2 separate regions of the Homo sapiens genome follow, and region 2 is linked to region 1. The links are contacts of gene promoters, found by promoter capture Hi-C in blood cells and fetal thymus (Javierre and others, 2016). All regions are on one chromosome and are shown on one strand. Each heading gives the region's core, a stretch centred on a gene start or on the middle of the fragment in contact. The rest is flanking DNA. Distances are from core to core; before and after follow the strand shown.

Region 1 (6,344 bases), core at 2,856-5,355:
CCTTAGAAAAGTGGCCCCAGAGAGACCCTTCACCTCCTCCACCCTGTGAAGACACAGCAAGAAGGTGCCGTCTGTGAACCAGAAAGTGGACCCTCAACAGACACGGAATCTGCAACACCTTGATCTAGGATTTCCAGCCTCCAGAACAGTGAGAAACAGGCTCCTGCTGTTGACAAGCCTCCTGGTCTACCGTAGTTTATTACAGCAGCCCGAACAGACTAAGACACCGTCTCTGAGCACTTTGCCTGCAGTCATGGACAAAGCATGCCCAGCACAGGCCCTGACCAGGTGCCTCTCAGCCTCACGTGCTGTCCCTCTTGGAAAGAGCTCTCCTAGGGAGCAGGGACTCTGTCTTTCCTACTCACACACCCTCTACCCTCCATCCCCATCCACAAGTCACCCAGACAATGCCAGCCTGTTTTGTGCTCAGAATATCATGAGGACTTTGTCGGACAGTGGCAGAGTGCCACATCTCCCTGGTTCTAGAAAACATGATCCTACAAGAGGGTGGGGAAAAGAGCACATGCGGATCATTGTCCCTGGAGGCAGTGGGCACACGGAGCCCATGGCCCATCAAAGGACAGTGCCCTGGTGAGCAGCCACCACTTCAGATTTTCCAGTTTGTGGATTTTGTGCAGTAGACACAGAGCCTGCCTGCTGGAATCAAGAGGCCTAGTCACCAGCCATGTGGCCTGCGCACATTACCTCCCATTCCTAGCCTGTATGTTGGGTGACACCCACCAGCAAGCCTCTGTGGGATTAAATGAAGCCATGCAGGCAAAGTGCCTGTGGCAGTGCTGGGACTCAGCAAGCCCTCAGTAACAGGTTCCCCTCCTGCGCTGACGCCATGGCAGCTGTGGCTGCCATTCCCCCATCCGCCAGCAGGTGCCCTCACTGCTTCATGCCTTCTATGGAACCCAGGGCTGTGGGTGACTGTGTCTGTGAGAAAAATAAAATCCCTAGGGGGAAGTGCGCGTTCAGGGTAGCTCTCTGAACTCATGTCGGCACCCGGCCTCGCCATCCATAAATGGGGATGATGACCCCCACTTCCTTGTGTTCCCAGAGGTGAAGGTCCCAAGCCCTGTCCACCAGGGCAGGTGCCTGGGGCCACACCTGAGATGACCATGAAGACTGGATTTGGGAGGCTGCCGATGTCTGCATGGAGCTGGCATTTGACTGGCAATTGCCCATCTTGAGCAGGGTTTTCATCGAGGGCTCGGAGCTTTAGAGGTGCAGCGTCACTCAGGTTCAAGGTGCTCAGCAACTCTGTGCCCTTGGGCAGCTACTTAACACTTCTGAGCCTCTGTTAGCTCATCAGTAAAATGGGAGTCATCTTACCTACCTCAAAAACCAATGCACCTACTGTTACGGATGGGCAACTCCTGCCCATTAATCTTTCCCTGAACACGTCCCTCTCCCCACAATCTCCTCCCTCCCCCTGAACACACACAAACTGGAGGTGGTAACCTCTTCCTTCCCCAGGCTGGCTCTGCAATGGCAACTTTCCAATTCCTACTTTGTGGAAACCCACCCAAGGCCACGTTATTAATATTTGACAGAAGCCCCAGACCCACCCTCTTATTCACACCCACTGGGAAGACCAAGGATACTCACTGAGTTATTATTGGCTGAAATTATTTTTTCATATCCTGCTGGAAACCAAAATATGGTCCTGGGCTTCTGATAAGTATCAACCACCTCATTCACCAGCAGGTGGCCCAGAGCACCTGCAGAAGCTGTGCTGGGGAATGAAGACAGGCCCATCTTTACTTACCAATGCCTCTCTCTTACCAATGTCTCTCTCTCTCACCAATGCCTCTGTTTTACAAATGCCTCCTCTCACCAACGCCTCTCTCTCTCTCTCTCACACACCAGTGCCTCTCTCTCACCAGTGCCTCTCTCTGTCTCACCAACGCCTCTCTCTCACCAATGCCTCTCTATTTACCAATGTCTCTCTATTACCAGTGCCTCACTCCTCACCAGTGCTTCTTACATCCAAACAGGGCACTTCCATGTCCTCCTCTGGTGGTCAAGCACAGACAAAGCTGGAGTCATCCACCATTGGCTAAGGTTTAATGAGCACTCACCAGAGGCTGGGCTCTGCTTGGGTGCTGAGCATATGCTAGGGTGGGGAAGGAGAGGGGCAGATGGGGGTGGCTGGAGGATGCCCTGCCGAGGGTAGAGTCTGGTCAGGAAGATGAACGTCGAGCGGAGAACTCCAGGTGGGAGGAGGGGGTCACAGAGATAGGGACAAACCCCCTTGACCCTGGCCGGGCTGCCTTCCTCATCCTCTGAAGCCTCTTTCAGAGATTGCTGCCCCTCTGCCTTATCAAAGGAGGGCTGGGACTGCTGAGCTCCACTGAGTTGCCCCTGGGAGCGAGCTTTCCCCAAAGGCTCAGGCCCAAGTAGGAATGAGTTAGCAACAAAGGCTTGAAATAAGTAGGAAATCACCAAACCAAACCACAAACAAAAGCCCTCCAGGCCAGGTAAGGACATTATTAGGAGTTGATAGGATCTTCTTGTTCTTAATTAGTATGTGCTGATAGGAAATCTCCAAGCAGCTTTCGCTGGACTGCCTGAGGGTCATCTCACCTCTCTTCAGGCTGCGGCTTCCTGTGGCCACCTTGCTTTAAGGCTTGTTCCCAGGACGGTCTCCTGGGGAGGAAGAAGATGTCCTCTCAGAGGCCAGCAGGTCCAACTAACGAGCTATGAGATGCCCAAGGTGGATGAGGACCTGGGCTCCTAAAGTCCCACAGCCCATTGTGTCCAGAGAGATGCTGCCCTGGGGACCCGACACAATGGCACCTTGGTTGCAGCCGTCCGGGCTGGCAGCTCACAGAGGCACAGTGGGGTTTTCTCATTTCAAATGCCTGGCCCCTTTCCAGAGGCACTTAGAATGGCCAGCTGATGGGCGTGCTACTTTTGCTTTGGAAAATGCGTCCACGAATATACTTCTCTCCCTAGGGACTGGGAAGGAGGAAGAATTGTGCAGCAGGGAGAGGTGAAGGCCCCACTGGAGAGAAGGGGAGCCCCTTGTCCTGCCTGCAGCAGCTGCCAATGGAAAGAAAGAAGAGTTGGGAGTCTAAGCTGGAGGTTGCGGGGCCAATTCCCTTTTGGCAGGCGAGAATCCGGACTCGGGCGGATTTCAGGCTTCAGTGTTTGTAGGAGGAAACACAGCAATCACACTATTAATAGTAAATTAAAATAAATGGGCAACTGCTGCATGGTAATACTTTTTTTTTTAAGGCAAAAAATAAAAAATAGTGAAACAGAGAAACAAAACATGAAACACCGGCAGTCAACAGGCAGGCAAAGAACCTGGGGGTGGGGGTAGCAGCGGTCCCACCCTCAAAAGGCCCGGGCTGCCCAGACCAAGAGAAAGCGATGAATCTCTTCTGGTAACGTCCCTTCCTGTCGCATGGATTCAAGGCCGACCTGCCCCAGCACCACCACCAGCAGCCTTCTGCTGGGGCCGGCACAGCTGGGAGCAACCTCCTACTCTCAGGCAGACGCGCAGCACCAAGCAGAGAGGCCCGGTGCAGGATCCCAGCGCCGAACCAGCGCCGGCTCAGTGGACGCGGAAGGGGCCGGCGGCCGCGGCCGGTCCCATCCCCCACTGCAGACCCCCAGCCTGTGGCGGTGGTCCAGTTCCGCCAGGAAACCGCCGCCTGGAGCTGTGGGTCGCGCACATTAACGCATCCAGCGGAAAAATGAAGGAGACCCAAATTCAAAGTTAAAGTAATGGTGACCCGAGAGGTGCCTTGATGAGAAGGTTTGGGGTCCCGGTTACTGATGGTTATCATTCTTACGAGATGCTGGTCACCTACGAAGGGAGAAAGGCACGAGGAGCGCCTGACCAAAGTGGTTTTGCCCTGCTTCCCGCAAGAGGTGGCACCCACGGCTGGAACGCAGGAGTCAGACCCACAGTCCCCAGCTCTGGACGCCCGCAGCGGGGCCTCGAAGAGGTTCAGGGCGGTGCCCGCGGCGCTCGGGCCGGGTCTCCCGGGGCGTGGGGCGGGGGGCGGGGTTGGGCGGCGGCCGGGGCTCCTCCCTCTTCTGCCCCGGGCTCCCCTGCTCTTAACCCGCGCGCGGGGGCGCCCAGGCCACTGGGCTCCGCGGAGCCAGCGAGAGGTCTGCGCGGAGTCTGAGCGGCGCTCGTCCCGTCCCAAGGCCGACGCCAGCACGCCGTCATGGCCCCCGCAGCGGCGACGGGGGGCAGCACCCTGCCCAGTGGCTTCTCGGTCTTCACCACCTTGCCCGACTTGCTCTTCATCTTTGAGTTTGTGAGTGGCTCCTGGCCGGGGAAGGGACGGGGTGGGCTGAGCCGTGCGCTCTCTCGGGCGCCCAGCACAGCTGTCGGACGGGATCCGCTAGCTGCGCAGGTTCTGGGAGCATCGGGGCAGCAGGCGCAGGGCGGGGACTAAGCCAGGGAAGTCCCCTCCCACCTCCGGTCCTTTGTGCCCTTCTAGACCAACAGAATGAGGGGAACAGTCTACAGGACTATGGAGGAAAAACTGGGTTCCCAACTGGGGTCAGATGTAGGCAGCGGGGCAGGGGGGGACGGCTCTTGGTTCGCTGGTCCCAAAGCTGCGCGCGGGGCCCACTTGACGCGCGCAGCGCCACCGAAGCTCCCGCCGCGCTTTGCGCGGTTGGGTAGAAGTGCGCAGCTTTTACAAGGGAGAAGGTTTCGTTAAAAAAGAAAAAAAAATCAGCAAGAGAAACATTAGTATTACCAACCGAGATTTGGAGATGAGAGGGAGCTGAATCCGGTTTATTTTCTTCTGGCCTTTTAAAGTTTCTGGCGAGGGAACGTATTTGCGACCAATTCGATCTGGAAATGAGGCCATCGTTTGCTTGGCCGCAGTCCTTCTGCCCCGTGTGCGGGGTGGGGGTGGAGGAGATGGGGGGTGGGGGGTGGGGGGTGGCGGCGAGAGCGATCCGCGCGCCTCGACTGACCTTGGGCAGGCCCGGGGCCTCTGCACCTGCGGTCGGTCCCGCCTTGCACGCACGGTCTCTGCCTGAGGCTGCAGGAAAGCGCTTCCTACTGAGAACTCCTGATAAGCGCTCACGGTGTCGCGAAGCCGAAGTGACCTCCCTCAGCCTCAACTCCCCGGGGGCCGCTGGCCTTCACCTGGGAGGGGTGTGCCCTGTATGTCCTGTGGGTGCGGTCCGTCACCGCCTGAGGGACACCTTTTCCGGCACCCCACCCTCAGAAGTGTCAGCGTGGAGAGTTGGGCGGGAAAGAAAATGTCGGAGCCTGGCTGTTTAAAAATTGGACCCCAGGTTGTTATTGCCTGATTGGAGGGGGAGGGTGTGAATACCAAAGGGAGCAGGTCAGTTCATCCAAAGAGGGCTTGCGGGCAGAGGCTAAGAGGGCTGCGGCGGCCTGGGAGCAGGGCTACCATTGAACTTAGGGTGAAAGTCCAGTCGAACCCAAACCTGGGTGGAACCGGTGACTTGAAATCCTAGGGATAGGCGGAATCAAAGCAGTTACATTTAGAAGAAACCCTGGACGCCAATGAACGCAGCCCCACCGTTTACAGAGAGCCAGCCCCCCGCTGGCCTCCTTTTAGAAGTTCAGCATACAAGAAGGAGTGCCCCTGAGAGTAGGAACAGTCCAGTTAGACGGGGCGATCTGATCTGCGGGAAAGGTGACCGGAGACTCCCACCCAACCCGCCAATGCTGCAGAAATTACAGGGGCGTGGGAAACCTTGGAACCATCTACTACTGGCAGCTTGCTCTTCCAGCGTGGCTTTGTGGCCTGCCGGTAGCGGGGCTTCCAGAAGAAACAACTCCCCCTCGCCCAGAACGCTTCTCTCAGCTGACTTAGAAAGTCACTTCTCCACCTCACCCCTGTTCCCCACCTCCCTTCCTCACTTCCCAGGAGACCCGCAATGCATAGTCATCTCCAGGCATCTTCCACATGCTCTAGATTAGGGGTGGGCTCGCAGGTGCCTGGGAGAGAAGAGGAGAAAGCTGACCCCAAGCCTCTCAGTTCTCCTCTGCATGGACTGTAAATACGAAGCTGTATATATTTGATGTGTGGAAGGAGTGGAGAATTAAAGGGCCTGAGAAGGCGCTGGCCACCCCGGGAGAGTTTTTGTTTTTGTTTTTGTTTTTGCTTTTGAGACGGAGTCTCGCTCTGTCGCCCAGGCTGGAGTGCAGTGGCGCGATCTTGGCTCACTGCAGGCTCCGCCTCCCGGGTTCACGCCATTCTCCTGCCTCAGCCTCCCAGCTACTCGAGAGGTTTTTTTAATTATGGAATATTACAACTCGACAACAAAAAGACAACCCAATTAGAAAATGGACAATGGACTTGAACAGAGGTTTCTACAAAGAAGAT
Region 2 (6,344 bases), core at 2,442-4,941, 190 kb after region 1:
GACAGTCTACACTCGGTCTTATTCCAGAGGCAAATGAAGGCCTCATGAAGGTTTTTAGAGGCCCAGCAAGATGAAACATGCCATAGCTGATTGGAGAGAGAGGATTAGTAAAGATGCTTCTGTAAGATCTGGCCAAGACAGTGGGAGATTGGCAGACCCCTTGGTTCAGGTGCTGGGACTCTTTATTTCCGTCACACCAGGCCTAACAGCATACAGGTACTGATGATCCTTATAAAACCATGGGAGAAAATGCCAGTATTGATTTTGATCTGTGAATTGGTAGATCGCTTTCAGAAAGATGAGGGGAGAGAAAGTAGCACCTGCTGACAGTGTCTGATTGGCCTGCCTGTGAGTTGATTACTGAGGTTTTCTTAGGGAACTGAAGTCTGAAAGCAACTGCCTGTTAGTCTGTTAGTGTTAGCATTGTTTGTACAGAACGAAGATGGTGCATGTTATATTACTTGTGCTGATCATTCCTGAGGCATATGACCTTAAGGGGCCATAAACTTAAAAGTGTGGGATTTCTTACTTGAAGTGTTAAAGAGTGTATTTTGGGCAGAGGATTTTCAGAGTAGGTAGTTCTTTTAACTTTATGTCATTATGTGCTTTGTTTTACCAGTCATTTTTGAAAGACTGAAATATGCATTAGAAAGCTGAATATAAACAAAATTAACCGTTCGATTCATATATATATGTATATATGTATATATATGTGTGTATATGTGTGTATATATGTGTGTATATATGTGTATACATGTATATATGTATATATGTGTATATATGTATATATGTGTATATATGTATATGTGTATATATGTATATATGTGTATATATGTATATATATGTGTATATATGTATATATATATGTGTATATATATGTGTGTGTATATATATTCAAGGGGCTCTGGCCCAAGTGGTAGTTTAAAGAGCGGTAAAACTGATTCATTTGCTAACCCAAGGGATGGTTTATTTTACTCTAAGTTAAATTGTAGTTGCATAGAAATTTTAAAAATAGAATTTGAAAAATTATTAGACATTTGTCTTATCAGCACTAACAGATTCAAAAGAGCATTACCTGCCCTACTCCCTTATTTCAGTATTTTAGTAAACAAACTAAACTTTGTGTCTGTCATCTAGATGAAGGTTAGGCTAAATACTCCTGCAGTGTTTTCAATGTTTAATAGGCTTCTGTTCTCCTCCCCACTTCTGTTCCCATGCACACGTTTATAGAACACCCCATTTAAACTTGTTTCTATTAATTCTTGTTCCTTCCTTCCTTTCTTTCATTCAAATATTCAACAAATATTTACAGAGTTTCTGCTCTGTGCCAAGTACTAGGCTGCTTCAGTGAGCAAAAATAGACCTGGCCTCTGCTCCTGTGGAGCTTATGTTAGCCACAAGATCCCCTCTATGTGTGCAACCCAAGGGAATGGAAGGAACATGTGTTCTAACTAGAGAGTCAGGGAAGGCTTCCCTTGAAGTAACACCTGAGCTGAGATCTGAAGGGAGAGAAGGATTCACATTGCTGAAAGGATGGGGCAGAGGGCAGAATATTCAGGAATAGGAAGCAGGATGTGTAAAGGGGCTAACGGGAATAGGACACACACTTCAAGCAGATGAAAGAATGCCACCAACTGGGGGACGCGGGCAGATTGATCAGGGTCGTTGTGAAAAATGACAAGAACACTCTGGGAACTTTCATAATCATTTGGGCTTCAGATACTGTTTTACAAATAAGTCTATATTCTGTGACGTGTAGGAAACATCTTAATTTTTAATATATATGGGACTGATTTCATTCTTAGGAAAACTAGAGAAAAAATACTTCAATTTCTTGAACCCCATATGTTTTAAAAACTATACCATAAGGAAAATACTTAATTCATAATTACATTTTTCTCTCCTTTTTCCTGTATAAGTAGTAGCAAATTCTGTAGTTCTGTAATTTATTGATACATAAACTAAAAAGTTCATACGTTCAAGTTTTACATTGAAGGTGCTTTCCTTCCTACTTGCAGGTAATATGCATTTCTGCTGCCTGGAGGCAGAGAGTGAGTCTGTGGACTACATATTCACCAGAGAATCTTAGTACTGGAAAGGGTGGCCAAGGCCATGTTGTCTGTCCTTTTTTTATCCTTTCTGTCTTCCTCCTCCTGTGCTGTCAGTTTTATTCCTCTTCAGAGGCCTCTGTAAGGAGGCTCATTGGTGAGCACCAATGTGTTTGGTTTTTCAGGAATTGATGATCAGGGATATGGCCGAGGCTCTCACCCAGTGGAGGCAGCTGAACTCTCCTCAGGGAGATGTGCCTGAGAAGCCTAGGAATCTGGTCTTGCTGGGTAAGGATGGCTCCCCCAATGCCTGTGAATTTACCCAGTGTGGTACCTTGTCCTCCTCAGTTCCTAGGAGCTCCAAGGTCCTTATATTCAATGATTCTTAATTCTAGTAGGGCCTGAGACAGGCAATTTCTGCCTTTTGTTTCTGGATATAGTTTTAACACTCCTGGAATTAGACATAAACACCTTTATTTTATGGACTTGTAGCATCCTTCTTCTCAACTCCTTGACCAAGGATGTGGAGACAAAGTGCTAATGAAAACAACTCTTAAGAGAATGGATGCTTATTCTTTAAATAGGGGGAGGTAAAATTGATAAGGGACTCAAACCCCTATCAATCTTCCTACCTCGTGAACACTGTTGAGGAAGAAATGGAGAACTGACCTCACTCTCTCCCTCTCTTACCATGTTCCTAAAGACCAGGGAATGAACACTGAGGTCTTCACCAGACTCCTTTTTCTTTCCCTATGAATAGGGCTTCCAATTTCCACACCTGATGTAATCTCTCAGTTGGAGCATGAGGAAGAGCTGGAGAGAGAAGTCTCAAAGGCAGCCAGTCAAAAGCGTGAGTGTTGGAAACAGTGCAAGTAAAACCCAGATTGTCAATGCAAATGCTTGTGGAGGAGGAGCCTGTCCAGATTTTGCTAGACCCATGGAAAAGTTGAAGTCCCTGTCTCACCCCTATGCCACATCCTAGCTCTGTGGATGGTTATCTGTTTATAAAGTTATAATTTGATTTTTTAGAAAGTAAATACTTTCTACTCTTTCAAACCAATTCTTTTTCCCAAATAAGGTAAAATGAAACCAACATTTTAATGTTTGTTAATAACTTGCTTGGGTTCAAGGCTCTAAAGCAGGATTTTTTACATGTGTTATTTTATCTTTGCTGGATGCCATTTTTTTGAGTCTCAGATCAATGACTGTAAATTCATCTCTGGGTTTTCCCTTGCCACCTTCTCTGTCTAAGCAGAGGCAGCATAGCATGATGGTTAAGACTGCAGACTTTGGAACTAAGCTTCCTTGGTTTAAAGCTGATCTTAGCTACTCATTAGCTTTGTGACCTTTAACAAATGACTTGTGTTCTCTGTGACTTAAATTAAAATGGGGATAATGATAGCACAGAGCTTATACTGTTTTGGTGGTGATCAAAGGAAATAATCCAAGAGAAATGTTTTAAACAGTACCTGGCTATATGCTAAGCAAAGATAGCTATTAAGTCCTAGTAACTTTTTTGAAAGATGTTATGGATTTGACCCTGTTACTTCTGTCAAACTGGATTACTGCAAAAGACTGTTGGCTAATTATACTTTCTTTTACTCTTACCCTTGTAAAATTGAGGCAGCATAATACTGCTAGATTCCCCATTGAGTTGCTTACTCTGCCAGCTCTGTATTCCTCTACCTGCTTTCAAAGCCGTTGTTAGTCTGCCTAACTTTTTTGCCTTCTCTGTTCTTCAACTTGAACTCTTAACATCAGATAGGCAAGTCCCTCACTATCCTCCACTAACTGTGTGTTCATGAACATTTGGGGCTTTAATTTTTTCCACTCCCCTTAGCTGGATGTCCATTTGCTTTTAACCTATTCTACCTATTTGTCCTTTAAAATCCCAGGCACTTCCCTGAATATATCTAGTTGAGAACACTGTATTGTATTAATTTATTTCATGTAGAGACATGATTGGAATGGGTGTTAAAGACCATTTAAGCTTGGAAGTATTTAAACATTTTTAGCAATGAAGCTTTTCCCCCTCAAATTCTTACTAGGAAGCCCAGGAACTTGGGGTAGATATCTTGAGAGGTTGGGGACTCATCTGAACACATGGAGTTTTGACCTTCCCCTCCCAACACACTGCTGTTTTTCTCTTTCTTTCCTTTCTCTCTTTTTTCTTTCTTCTTGGTTCTGTTTTACTCTTTCCAGTTTGCTGGGTCTAGGGTGATGGTAAGCAATCAGAGGTGATTAGTTGCTTTCCAATTAATAAGCTTTGTGGTCATTTGAGTTTGTAGACCTGGACTATGTTGAATGCTAGCTTCTAGAATTTGTGTCTTATCTTGAGACAGTAGAACCAACAGATTTTTGTGAAAGGGAGATGGTTTTGAGCAATTAGTCTTTTAGCAGTGGTTGGGACATATTGGAGTAGGAAAAGATTGGTGGCAAGGAGATTAGCTAAAGATGGTCATTCTTGAGGCATGAAATGATAAGGCTCTGGTCAGATGGGTACAGTGAGTCTTTGGAAGACCATCTTTCTCTGATCCTATCTCCTCTAAAGGATCTATCTCCTCTAGATCCTTTTTTAAAAAAATCTGCTATTTCTCCATATCACCTCTTCTTAGTCTCATTCTGTTATTTTTTGTTATTTCCTATCCTGCTGCATAGAGGAATGTTGAGTACCTGCACACACACTCCTTTTATGCCGTCGTACTTCTTTGTCCAGTCATCTTTTTTTTCTTGTGTTCTCTCAAGATTGCAAGACTATTTTTGAGAGCTTTCAAGTTCATGTGTTCCCTGTAAATATTCCTAACAAAGAATGAAACAAACATGTTTCATTAATTTCCTACCACAGCAGTTATTTTTCTCTCAGTGTAGGAAATGATACACATGTGTGTTTTTGCTTATTTCAGACTGGGAAACAATACCAGAAAGCAAGGAGCTAACTCCAGAGAAGGATATTTCTGAAGAAGAATCGGCTCCTGGGGTGTTAATTGTAAGATTTTCAAAGGAAAGTTCTAGTGAATGTGAGGATTCTTTAGAGAGTCAGCAGGAAAACCATGAGAAACATTTAATACAAGAGGCTGTCACTGAGAAATCTTCTAGGGAGAGAAGCTACCAATCTGATGAATTTAGAAGAAATTGCACTCAGAGGTCCTTACTTGTTCAGCAGCAAGGAGAGAGACTACATCATTGTGATTCATTTAAAAATAACTTAAAACAAAATTCAGATATAATTAGGCATGAGAGAATTTGTGCAGGAAAGAAACCTTGGAAATGCAATGAATGCGAGAAAGCCTTCAGTTACTACTCAGCTTTTGTCTTGCATCAGAGAATTCACACAGGAGAAAAACCCTATGAATGTAACGAATGTGGTAAAGCCTTTAGCCAGAGCATACACCTTACTCTGCACCAGAGAATTCATACTGGGGAGAAACCCTATGAATGTCATGAGTGTGGGAAAGCCTTCAGTCACCGCTCAGCCCTTATTCGGCATCATATAATTCATACTGGAGAAAAACCCTATGAATGCAATGAATGCGGGAAGGCCTTTAATCAGAGTTCATACCTCACTCAACATCAGCGAATTCATACTGGAGAGAAACCTTATGAGTGTAATGAATGTGGGAAGGCCTTCAGCCAAAGCACATTCCTTACCCAGCATCAGGTCATTCACACTGGAGAGAAACCTTATAAGTGTAACGAATGTGGCAAAGCCTTTAGTGATCGGTCAGGTCTTATCCAGCACCAGAGAACTCATACTGGGGAGCGGCCATATGAGTGTAACGAATGTGGGAAAGCCTTTGGCTACTGCTCAGCCCTGACTCAGCACCAGAGGACTCACACTGGGGAGAAACCCTATAAATGCAATGATTGTGCCAAAGCCTTCAGTGACCGCTCAGCCCTTATTCGTCATCAGAGAACACACACTGGAGAGAAACCTTACAAATGTAAAGATTGTGGAAAAGCATTCAGCCAGAGCTCATCTCTTACAAAGCATCAGAAAACTCACACTGGAGAAAAGCCCTACAAGTGTAAGGAATGTGGAAAAGCCTTTAGCCAGAGTTCATCCCTCTCTCAACATCAGAAAACTCATGCTGGAGTGAAAACCAAGAAATATGTCCAAGCTCTTAGTGAGCATTTAACCTTTGGCCAACACAAGAGAATTCATACTGGATAAAGACTATGTAAATGTGGTACATTCAGAGCATAGTTATTGAGCATTTACCATACTTGCTGTGGGGGTCTACAAAGAAATTTAAGACTGTGTTGCAAAAAAGTTATTGACAAGTCATTGCTGATGTG

Evidence for each region. Contacts are between HindIII fragments. The CHiCAGO score rates a contact against its expected background, and 5 or more counts as called.
Region 2: a fragment that was not itself captured here is called in contact with the fragment with the promoter of MAL in region 1 in 4 of 17 cell types (activated CD4 T cells, naive CD8 T cells, naive CD4 T cells and 1 more); the score reaches 8.6 in activated CD4 T cells.

Annotation. Positions count from the first base shown.
Region 1 is chr2:95,021,603-95,027,946 of GRCh38, forward strand. MAL (mal, T cell differentiation protein (MAL blood group)) reads left to right here and starts at 4,106. Exons shown (of 4, transcript NM_002371.4): 1 at 4,106-4,283. The coding sequence starts at 4,191. It overlaps MAL-AS1 (MAL antisense RNA 1), which reads right to left and starts at 5,427. Exons shown (of 8, transcript XR_007087136.1): 1 at 4,957-5,427; 2 at 4,738-4,831; 3 at 2,593-2,655; 4 at 1,615-1,741. RefSeq lists enhancers at 483-983, 4,490-5,213 and a silencer at 4,006-4,135. The HindIII fragment of the contact is 7,953 bases long and covers 1-6,344 here.
Region 2 is chr2:95,209,385-95,215,728 of GRCh38, forward strand. ZNF892 (zinc finger protein 892) reads left to right here. Exons shown (of 5, transcript NM_001395961.1): 3 at 2,234-2,336; 4 at 2,809-2,898; 5 at 4,952-6,344. The coding sequence ends at 6,219. Among named protein-coding and RNA genes, the nearest start is that of ZNF892, 5.0 kb to the left of the region's middle. The HindIII fragment of the contact is 690 bases long and covers 3,347-4,036 here.